Regions from separate parts of the Homo sapiens genome. Here region 1 is linked to region 2. Evidence: promoter capture Hi-C in 16 types of primary human blood cells and fetal thymus (Javierre and others, 2016). All regions are on one chromosome and are shown on one strand. The core of a region is centred on a gene start or on the middle of the fragment in contact, and the rest is flanking DNA. Distances in the headings are between cores, read along the strand shown. Region 1 holds the start of HEXIM2-AS1 (HEXIM2 antisense RNA 1). Region 2 holds the start of ITGA2B (integrin subunit alpha 2b).

Region 1 (5,478 bases), core at 1,854-4,353, 770 kb after region 2:
GCCAGGCATCGTGGCGGGTATCTGTAATCCCAGCTACTCGGGAGGCTGAGGCAGGACAATTGCTTGAACCTGGGAGGCAGAGGTTGTAGTGAGCCGAGATCGCGCCACCGTACTCCAGCCTGGGCAACAGAGCAAGACTTTGCTTGGAGAAATGTAAATAAATATACTCTGCCCTAATGACTGCAAAAGTTAAAGAAACCAAAGAGGGACTCCACAGACTTAAACAACAAAACCCACAACCAAATACTCTACCTACTTAAGGGCTGGCTATATTTAGTCAAGCATTAGGTAATGCATCAGTTCTTCCCTTGATCACTTATACCCATAACAGCTAGCAACAAATATTCACAACAGTGTGGTGGAAAAGTTGGTTATAGTTAAAAAGTACTTGAACGTTAAGTACTTAAGTACACTTGAGTTTGTGGGGTTTCGAGGTTTGTTTTTTTGGGGGAAGTACTATTTCTCACATTTGCACAACATCACTGGAATAACAATTCCACTTTATTATTCTTTCTCAAGCAAAGTGTAAATGGTTGAGGCTAGAAATAAAAAGTTATTTTTTTAAAAAAAGAGAATGTTGCCAGGTACGGTGGCTCACGCCTGTAATCCCAGCACTTTGGGAGGCCGAGGCGGGCGCATCACAAGGTCAAGAGATCGAGACCATCCTGGCCAATATGGTAAAACTCCGTCTCTACTAAAAATACAGAAAAAAAATTAGCTAGGCATGGTGGTGCCCACCCGTAGTCCCAGCTACTTGGGAAGCTGAGGCAGGAGAATTGCTTGAACCCAGGAGGCAGAGGTTGCAGTGAGCCGAGACTGCGCCACTGCACTCCAGTCTGGTGACAGAGTGAGACTCTCAAAAACAAACAAACAAACAAAAAAAGCTACAAAAATTAGCCGGGTGTGGTGGTGGGCGCCTGTAATCCCAGATATTTGGGAGGCTGAGGCAGGGAGAACTGCTTGAAGCCGGGAGGCAGAGGTTGCGGCAAGCCGAGATCGTGCCACTGCACTCCAGCCTGGGCAACAGAGCTAGACTCCATCTCAAAAAGAAAAAAAAAAAAGAATGTCAAATTCAGGCCCTAAACACCATGGGAACTGCTGACCAAAGGATAAAAGTCATACTTTGCAACTGGAGCAAAATATATGGTCCAGGAGGCAAAATTTCAATCTTTGGCCAAATTTTTGCCAAAAAAGATCAAGAACAGGATGTTGGGGCCTAAACACAGGAGGGTAAAAAACTGATTAACTGGCCAGGCACCGTAGCTCACGCCTGCAATCCTAGCACACTGGGAGGCCGAGGTGGGCGGACCACCTGAGGTCAGGAGTTGGAGACCAGCCTGGCCAACATGGTAAAACCCTGTCTCTACTAAAAATACAAATACAGGCCGGGCACAGTGGCTCACTGACTGTAATCCCAGCACTTTGGGAGGCCAAGGTGGGAGGATCACCTGAGGTTGGGAGTTCAAGACCAGCCTGACCAACATGGAGAAACCCCATCTCTACTAAAAATACAAAACTAGCCGTGCATGGTGGCGCATGCCTATAGTCCCAGCTCCTTGGGAGGCTGAGGCAGGAGAATCGCTTGAACCCAGGAGGCAGAGGTTGTGGTGAGCCAAGATCACACCATCGCGCTCCAGCCTTGGCAACCAGGTGAAACTCCGTTCCAGAAAAAAATAAAATGCAAAAATTAGCCAGGCATGGTGGTGAGTGCCTGTAATCCTAGCTACGCGGGAGGCTGAGGCAGGAGAATCGCTTAAACCTGGGAGGTGGAGGTTGCAGTGGGCGAAATCGCGCCACTGCACTCCAGCCTGGGCGACAGAGCAAGATTCCATCTCAAAAGAAAAGGAAAAAAAATTGATTTAACTGTGGAAACCAAACAGAAGCAAGCATCTTCATCCCGAAGAGGGGGAATTACTGTAAAGAATCACTCCTTTTCTGCAATTATACAGGCAGCAGGAAAAAAAAACAAAAAAAAAACCTCCTACCTCTGTCAACGAATCCTACTCACACATAGTCACTGCTCCCTAGGATTTGGCCATCAGGCAAAATGAGTGTCCAGGACTTCACAGCCACAACCAGTGGGCACCCTGAGAGACTGATCCTCATTCAGCCTACTTGGATGGCTCTTTTGTGATGCTATGGACAACTAAGGCCACACTTTGGTAAGGCAGGCTTTCCAACTGCCCCAATGATCTTTGAAGCATTCCTTGTGAAGTTCTCATATAACAAAGTTACAAGGAGTAAGTGTTTACATAGCGACTTAAGACTAGTTACTCCTCTAGGTATTTATGAGGGAGACAGTGCTGATACCATTTTCAAATGAATATAGAGTTTGTAGAATTTGTCATAAAAGCATAATGCAACTCATCTGAGAGGGGAGAGCTGAAAAGGAAGTTGAAAGTCTGGTTGAACAGTAGATGAACAATAGACTAAGCAGCAAAATGACCAGTTTGGCCTCATTATCAGTATTTGGCCTCTGGCCAAGTCAACCAAGTTAAGGGCAGCACACACAGAAACAGAGCTCGGAGTTCCTAATTTTCAGTCCTACAGTCCTGTGTTTTCCTTAGATAACCAGGAGGCCACTAATAAGCTGGTTTTATTCCCATTTTTTCTTTTTTTTTTTTTGAGACAGAATCTTGCTCTGTCACCCAGGCTGGAGTGCAGTGGCACGATCTCGGCTCACTGCAACCTCCAGCCCCGGGGTTCAAGCAATTCTCCTGCCTCAGCTTCCCAAGTAGCTGTGACTACAGGTGCACACCACCACACTCAGCTAATTTTTGTATTTTTAGTAGAGATGGGGTTTCACCATGTCTGCCAGGACGGTCTCAATCTCTTGACCTCGTGATCTGCCCGCCTTGGCCTCCCAAAGTGCTGGGATTACAGGCGTGAGCCACTGTGCCCGGCCTATTCCCAATTTTTCTTAGCAAAGAATGGAAAAGCTTGTGGGTCAACCTTAAGGATAGTAAGTTTCATTTACAAATGAGTAACAAATTTCTGCTGCTGGTACAGTATTTGCCACTCAGTAGCATCCAAAAATTTCACTAGATTACTTCATAATGGAGGATGAATCCCAAGTGTCTAGGATCCTCCATTAAATTCTTGACAGAAGACCCACAAAGATCGTCTTTAAAAGCCTTTTCTGTTCCTATGACTATTTAAGTCCTACCAAGTTAGTTAGCTTTTTTAAACTCACATCTCTTGATCAGTGTAGAGCGAACATGTCATATGTAGGTAAAAAATCAAACCACAGTAGGCATCAAGTGTACTGAAGCTTCAGTTAGGAGTAAGTGGTTCCAGTTTTGGATTGAGGACCCTAGTCAATGATGATCCTATTTTGTAATCCAGTTGTAAAACATCTGGGGAGCAGAGGGAAAAAAGTTAATGCTATGGAGTTGTCACTCCAACTGAAGAAAAATTATTAATAGGAGGAGCAGAACTTCAGTTCTGGAAAACTTTTTTTTTTTTTTGAGACAGAGTCTTACTCTGTCACCCAGGCTGGAGTGCAACGGTGAGAGGCTCATGGCAAACTCTGCCTCCTGGGTTCAAGCGATTCTCCTGCCTCAGCCTCCCGAGTAGCTGGGATTACAGGCACGCAACTCCACACCCGGCTAATTTTGTATTTTTAGTAGAGAAGGGGCTTCACCATGTTGGCCAGGTTGGTCTCAAACTCCTGACCTCAGGTGATCCACCCGCCTCCACCTCCCAAAGGGCTGGGATTACAGGTGTGAGCCACCGCGCCAGGCCAAGTTCTGTTAAACTTTTAGTAAGGCTGAAGGCTTAGGCATGTTTTGACCATTTGTAACTGATAATAAGACTCATCACAAGGTACCCACAAAATTCACTGCCAGTCACTCTGCTACGTCAAAGCCTCTCCTACTTCAGCACCTACCTAGGCATAATTTTAACTGACATTTTAGCAATAAAACTTTTATTTGAAGATATCCTTGAGCCACAAATCTCTCTGGATTTAGATTTCAAGCAGTAGGAAGTAAGATGGTTTAACCTGCAATTCAATAAAAGAACTTCACATCAAACTTCAATCTTTAAGAAGCTGCTACAGCTATAATGTAAGGTTAAGAGTTTATTCTTTCAAAGCAGGTCTCCTCATCTCTTAAACGCTATACATATGAAGTAGATAAAAACTGGTTTCTTTTTTGGTAGCATTTAGGATCTACAAAAGTGATCCTTCAATTACTTGGAATTTCAAAAAATTGAGGTTACCTAGTAACAATGCACCAGTAGAACACAAAATACTCTGACTTTGTTTAGTCTGTGGGAAAAGAAAAATCTTTAAACTGGAAAGATTTTGTAGTCTTACAAAGATTACATTGGAATTGGAATTACTGTAGTTCGTTTTTCCCTCTAGGAGGGCAGCCATTTCTCTAAAAGTTGTGTAAAAGTTAAGACTAGGATTTCAAAATGCAAGCAGATGTTGATGAAGCATACGAAATGGGCAACTCCGTTTCTATTTCGGAGCCGCAGCGACTCCGACTTTGTGCCCCAACCCTGTAAAGGGCAAAACCTCATCCCTTCGGTGTAAACTTTCAAGAGAAGTGGGGCAGCACACTTTAGGCGTTTCACCAAGAGGCTGGCGACATGCTAGGTCAGGTTGTCCGGAGAATCGGGGCTGAATGGGAGAGATCTTGAGGGCAAGAGCCTCAGAGACCTTCAGGCACCGAGCTCGTGAAGGTTTCCAAGTGCCCCTCTCTAGCTGCTCCCAGGGGGAATTAGTGGTTGCTACAGTAGTTTAAGAGGGTCGTGGTTTTTCGCAACCCGGGCGGCGAGATGGCGCTTTGGTGTAAGCGAGGTAAGGTGGGTGCACTGGGATCTCCGCTCTCGGAGCCTCCAGCTGACTGCCACGCCGACTTGTGGCCAGACCTGCGACCTCCGCCCTCCCCCGCGGCGCCAGCCTCTGGAATCTGGCGTCGCCCCCACCTCTCCAGTCGAAGTGGGAGTCCCTCTGTGCGGGGCCTCGCCGCCATACCCAGGCCGAATGGGGGTGGGGAGGGAAGCTGGCAGAGCTCGGCCTCAGGATCCGCGCCCCTGTGGAAAGACCGCAGAGGGAAGCCGTTTCACCAGCCTCTCCCCTTCTGGGGTCTCGGGAAACACGCGGTAATTACCGAAGAACCCCGCACTCTGTGAGAGGCGAGGCTGCGGGGCTGCCGGGACGGTTTGAGGACCGGGCTCGGCCGAGGAGACTCCAACCTTCACCCTCCCTGGCCCCCGGTCCCACTTCCCGCCGTCTCCCGGCGCCGCCACTTCAGGTAGCCCACTCGGCCCGGCCTCTCCCCGCGCCCGGACCACCCCCCACGGGGTGCTCTCACTGCGCAGCGAGTCCCTCCGCTGCCTCCTCCCAGCCCAAAATGGCGGCGATGGCCGCCGAGCTTCTCGTCGCCTTCCTCAAAGGCCAAGGATCCCTCCGCGCCTGCTGCCCCGCCCACCTTAGCCGGATCTATTTTCTGCCCCGTAAAGATTAAC
Region 2 (5,565 bases), core at 1,761-4,260:
TATGTGAAATAGGAATACCAATTTCATAACCAATGACTGGTTTTCACAACCAGTCAATGCTGTCAGGAGTAAATGTAATAAATACGAGTAACGGTTAGCATGGTCCCAGCCAAATACATAACAAACGCTCTTGAAACAATGCTATAATTTTAAAAAATAATTTTGTTGTTTTGAGACAGGGTCTCATTCTGTTGCCCAGCTGGAGTGCAGCAGCATGATCACAGCTCACTGTAGCCTTGATCTCCAGGGCTCAAGCAATCCTCTCCCCTCAGCCACCCTAGTAGCTGGGACTGCGGGTGTGCAACACCATGCCTGGCTAATTAAAAAAAATTTTTTTATAGGCTGGGCATGGTGGCTCACACCTGTAATCCCAGCACTTTGGGAGGCCAAGGGATTACAGGCGTGAGCCTCTGTGTCTGGCCCATAATATTTTTTTAGCCTGCAGGATGTTTAAGTAGTGCCAATGGGATCACTACTTATAGGAGGGGAAATCAGCAGGAGTGGGCACAGGAAGGAGTTGAGCTGATTCAGGCCCAATGACAGCATTCGCCAACACCCCACGAGCTTTGGAACTAGAATGACCCTTCAAAATTGTCAGAGTTGGCCGGGTGTGGTGGCTCACGCCTGTAATCCCAGTACTTTGGGAGGCCGAGGCAGGCTGATCACCTGAGGTCAGGAGTTTGAGACCAGCCTGGCCAACATAGTGAAACCCTGTCTCTACTAAAAATACAAAAATTAGCCGGGCATGGTGGCATGCACCTGTAATCCCAGCTACTCGGGAGGCTGAGACAGGAGAATCGTTTGAACCCAGGAGGCAGAGGTTGCAGTGAGCCGAGATCACCCCATTGCACTCCAGCCTGGGCAACGAGAGCGAAACTCCATCTCAAAAAAAAAGAAGAAAAAAAGTCTGGGCATGGTGGCTGAAGCCTGTAATCCCAGCACTTTGGGAGGCCAAGGCGGGTGGATCACCTGAAGTTGGGAGTTCGAGACCACCCTGACCAACATGGAGAAACCTCGTCTCTACTAAAAATACAAAATTAGCCGGGTGTGGTGGCACATGCCTGTAATCCCAGCTACGCGGGAGGCTGTGGCAGGAGAATCGCTTGAACCCGGGAGGCAGAAGTTGCGGTGAGCCAGTGATTGTGCCATTGCACTCCAGCCTGGGCAACAAGAGCGAAACCCCATCTCAAAAAAAAAAAAAAAAAAAAAAAAAAAAGAAGAAGAAGAAAAAAAGAATTGTCAGAGTTGATGAAAGAGGGCTGGACCCTTATCAAATGCCTCCCCCACACCTGCCTCCACTCTCCCCACTCACCCACTTCTCATTGATCAGACACTGGATGTGGGCCATCTTGGGAGGGGACTTGGAGTGAACTGGCTCTCTTCAGCAGAGGAAATCCCCTAAGTGGCTGACACTTGAAGGCTATCTGCCATTGCCACCCATTGCCACTCCCTGAAGCTGGTGGGCACAGTGTCTCTCACAATAGTAGCTCAGGGTACACGCTATGAAGAGGAGGAGCCAAGACTCTAATCTTGGCACTCTTGATTCTGAAGCCTGATCAATACTAATCATTAATGACCTATTGCTTCTTTTCAAATATTTATAATGTTGATGGAGATGAGGGAAATGGAACAGAAATGCAAGGTGCGGGAGGGTAGACAACTTTAGTTCTGCAAATCAATTTAGGACATGTGCTCCTCTCCACATTTCCTTTCTTTTTTTTTTTTTTTTTTTTTTGAGACAGAGTTTCGCTCTCGTTGCCCAGGCTGGAGTGCAATGGCATGATCTCGGCTCACCACAACCTCTGCCTCTCAGGTTCAAACGATTCTCCTGCCTCAGCCTCCCGAGTAGCTGGGATTACAAGCATGCGGCACCACGCCCGGCTAATTTTTTTTTTTTTGAGACGGAGTGTCACTCTGTCACCCAGGCTGGAGTGCAGTGGCATGATCTCAGCTCACTGCAACCTCCACCTCCCGGGTTCAAGTGATTCTCCTACCTCAGCCTCCCGAGTAGCTGGGACTACAGGAGTGTGCCACCACGCTCAGCTAATTTTTGTATTTTTAATAGAGACAGGGTTTCACCATATTGGCCAGGCTGGTCTTGAACTCCTGACCTCATGATCTGCCCACCTCTGCCTCCCAAAGTGCTGGGATTGCAGGTGTGAGCCACTGTGCCTGGTCTCTTTTTTTTTTTTTTTTTTGTATTTTTAGTAGAGACGGGGTTTCTCCATGTTGGTCAGGCTGGTCTCGAATTCTCGACCTCAGGTGATCTGCCCGCCTCGGCCTCCCAAAGTGCTGGGATTACAGGCATGAGCCACCGCGCCCGGCCTCCTCTCTGCATTTCAAGGTGTTGAGGGTGGAGTGGTTCATACAACTGACCCTTGGGGAAAAAATAAAGCATCAACTCTTGTCTTCCCTTTGTTCTTGCTGTAGTTTTCAGTGCCCATCAGCCCACATGTGCCCTGCCCTTATACCTTCACCTGAGCCAGTCCCCTGGACCCCAACATTCTTGACAAGAAATCAACCTGAATAGGCCCCACAAGTCACCTTGCTCAACTGCTATCGCAAATGGGAAACTCGAAGCCCCCAGAAGCAGTGATGGGGAGGGGTCCTGCTCTCTCCCAATACCCCAACTTCCCTTACGGCTCACCTCCCATGGCTGTCCTTGTGGAAGTCCAGTGAAAATCCAAACTGGCTGCCATTGGGGCCTGCATAGAAGGTGAGCTGCACTGGGTCCAGGTTCAAGGCCCAGGCTGGAGGGGCAGCACAAGGTCCCAAGAGCAGCAGCACCCACTCCAGAAGCCAGAGGGCTTGCAGTGGACACAAAGCTCTGGCCATCTTCCTTCTTCCACAACCTCCCAGGCAGGAATGGGCCAGCTCCTCCTCCTTCCCTTCAGATTCCTCCACAGGAAGTCTTTTCTTATCAAACTGGAACCCCAAGTAACTTGCTGAGCAACGGGCAGAGCAAAGGGCTATAGCCCCTGGACTCATGGTGGCTAGAATTGCCAGGAAGTGGGTGAGGCCACCCAGAGGGTGGATGCTCATGGCTGAAAGCCATGACTCCTCCCCTTTCCTGAGAATAGTTTATTACCATGTCCTATTGGTTCTGCCTATCAATGATGTCTCTTGAATCTTTACCCCATCTCTACTACCACCGTGCTAGTCCAAGCCACCATCACTTTCTGCTTGGGATAGCGTGATTGTGAACTGGTCCATACTTGTCTACTCTAGCCTACAGTTCTAATCTCCTCCCTTCCCCCATCTGGCTGTACAGCTGTGGTGCTTTGTGACTTGGCCACAGGTCGGGGAAGGAGAAGGAAGCTGCTGCCCCCGATAAAACCTGAGGCTTCTGTATCTTTTTGGATATGGCATTTACCCACTTCCTCCTTCTAGGACCTTGGGCGGCCTCAACCAGCCATATTGGTGCAGCAGCTTCCTCACTCCTCCTCCGTCTTGAGCCAAGCTTTAGTGTGGCCACAGCAGTGCAGTCAGTGCTGGGGACAGGGTGGTGAATGGACCTTGGTCTAGGTGGCAAGGAGATTGGGGATAAAGTGGAGTTATTCCAGGGAATTTTGACTCACAGTTTCTGAGATTATGCATTAGCTGTTCAGTTGAAGGTAGGCCCTCAATCCTTTTTGGGTGATGGAGCTCTTTAACCATTAAGACTTGATTCTGGTTGGGGGCTTTGCCTAGGGGAGCCTTCCCTGACTCCTCAGGCTGGCCGCGTGGGCTAACACACGTAGGCACAGCATTGAGCACACTGTTTACTCTTGGTCCGTTCACAGGATTGTGTAAATGAGTCCCTTGGGAGCAAGGCTCCTTGCTACAGCCCTAGAGACTACCCAAGAGTCCAATGTGTAGTACGTGTATTGCTGAAAGACTGGATGGAAACACACACTAAGGATGGAAGATGCAAACATAGGGTGACAAAGTGAAGGGATGAGTTTTGAGCAGAAAGGCAAAGTCATTTTCTCTCGGTAAGCGGAAGAGGAGGAGTGCCAAGTCTTACTGGCACTCATGCCTTCCCAAAAAAGCAGGTTCTCAGGAAGATTTAAGAGGTCCGCTAGGGGTAACCATAGCCACATTTTCCTTTTGATTTCTATTTTCTGATCAAACTTAACCATTGCCGTATCCTGCTCAACCACCCTGTACCATTTTGAAGTCCCCTCGTAATTTACTACCTCAGCCTAGAGTTAAGAATCTTATCCTTTATAGGACAGGAAGCTAAAAGCCTGAACTTTGGTCTGGGCCTTCTTCATTGCTGAGTTCCCAGTGTCAAGTACATGGGAGGCGTGTAATTAATGTATTTGCTTGAACGAATACTTAACCCAGTCCTCTACTTACCTTCTATCCTCCCACTGTCCTCAGGTGAGTGATTGCTGTATTACTGGTGTATTCTGTGAGGCCAAATATGAACTTACATTTCACTCAAGTTTTCAATAAGTATTTACTCTGTTCAAGGCACTGTGTTGATAAAGGATACAAAGATAACCATTAGGCCAGGTATAGTGGCTCATGCCTGTAATCCCAGCACTTTGGGAGGCTGAGGCAGGAGGATGGCTTGAGCTCAGGCATTTAAGACCAGCCTAGGCAATACAGTGAGACCTCGTCTCTATTTTAAAATTATAAAAAATAAAATATTTTAAAAACTCCAAAGATAGCCATCAAGGAGACTTAACAAACAGCCCAGAAAGAGTTAAGACATGAACACACATAACTGCAGCAGAGAGACAGTCAAGCATGCCTTGAAAAATACACAGATTATCAAAGTCGTATATCATTGTTACTCATAACAACCCTAGGAAATAAGTACTATTATGCCCATTTTATAAACACAAAACTGTGGCACAAGAGTTTTAGGTAAATTGCCCATGTTTACGCAGCCAACAGATGGCAAAACTAAGATTCAAACATGGGTTGCACTTGAACTCATGTTCAAGTTGCCTTTTGTCAGAGAATGAAAGGGTTTTTAGGCATAGAGAATACATGAGAGCAGCAAAGGAACACAGAGGTAGGGAAGGACAAGTAGTTGACTCAGCATAGCAGAATGCTTAAAGGGTTGGACTGAGGCGCAAGGGGGTAAAGCTTGGGGATTCAAATTACTGGAGGTCCTTGAATGCCATATTAAGGAATCTGAACTTTAATCCATGGGGGATGGAAAATCATAAAGATTTTAGCCGGGCATGGTGGCTCATGCCTGTAATCCCAGCACTTTGGGAGGCCCAGGCGAGTGGACCACAAGGTCAGGAGTTTGAGACCAGCCTGGCCAACCTAGTGAAACCCCGTCTCTACTAAAAATACAAAAATTAGCTGGGCGTGGTGGTGTGTGTCTGTAATCCCAGCTACTTGGGAGGCTGAGGCAAAAGAATTGCTTGAACCTGTGAGGCGGAGGTGGCAGTGAGCTAAGATCATGCCACTGCACTCCAGCCTGGGCGACAGAGTGAGACTCCATCAAAAAAGAAAAAAAGAAAGAAAGAAAAGAAAAATAAAATTATAAAGATTTTTTACACCAGGTTTGGTGGCTCATGCCTGTAACCCTAGCACTTTGGGAGGCCAAGATGAGGATTG

The links. Contacts are between HindIII fragments. The CHiCAGO score rates a contact against its expected background, and 5 or more counts as called.
Region 1: a fragment that was not itself captured here is called in contact with the fragment with the promoter of ITGA2B in region 2 in 1 of 17 cell types (megakaryocytes); the score reaches 5.1 in megakaryocytes.

What each region holds. Positions count from the first base shown.
Region 1 is chr17:45,156,137-45,161,614 of GRCh38, forward strand. It overlaps HEXIM2-AS1 (HEXIM2 antisense RNA 1), which reads right to left and starts at 5,402. Exons shown (of 3, transcript NR_186789.1): 1 at 5,325-5,402; 2 at 3,194-3,356. It also overlaps a transcript of HEXIM2 not described here. RefSeq lists enhancers at 4,374-4,989, 4,990-5,478, 5,259-5,478. The HindIII fragment of the contact is 332 bases long and covers 2,938-3,269 here.
Region 2 is chr17:44,386,639-44,392,203 of GRCh38, forward strand. ITGA2B (integrin subunit alpha 2b) reads right to left here and starts at 3,011. Exons shown (of 30, transcript NM_000419.5): 1 at 2,648-3,011. The coding sequence starts at 2,835. RefSeq lists an enhancer at 3,168-3,227. The HindIII fragment of the contact is 14,706 bases long and covers 1-3,458 here.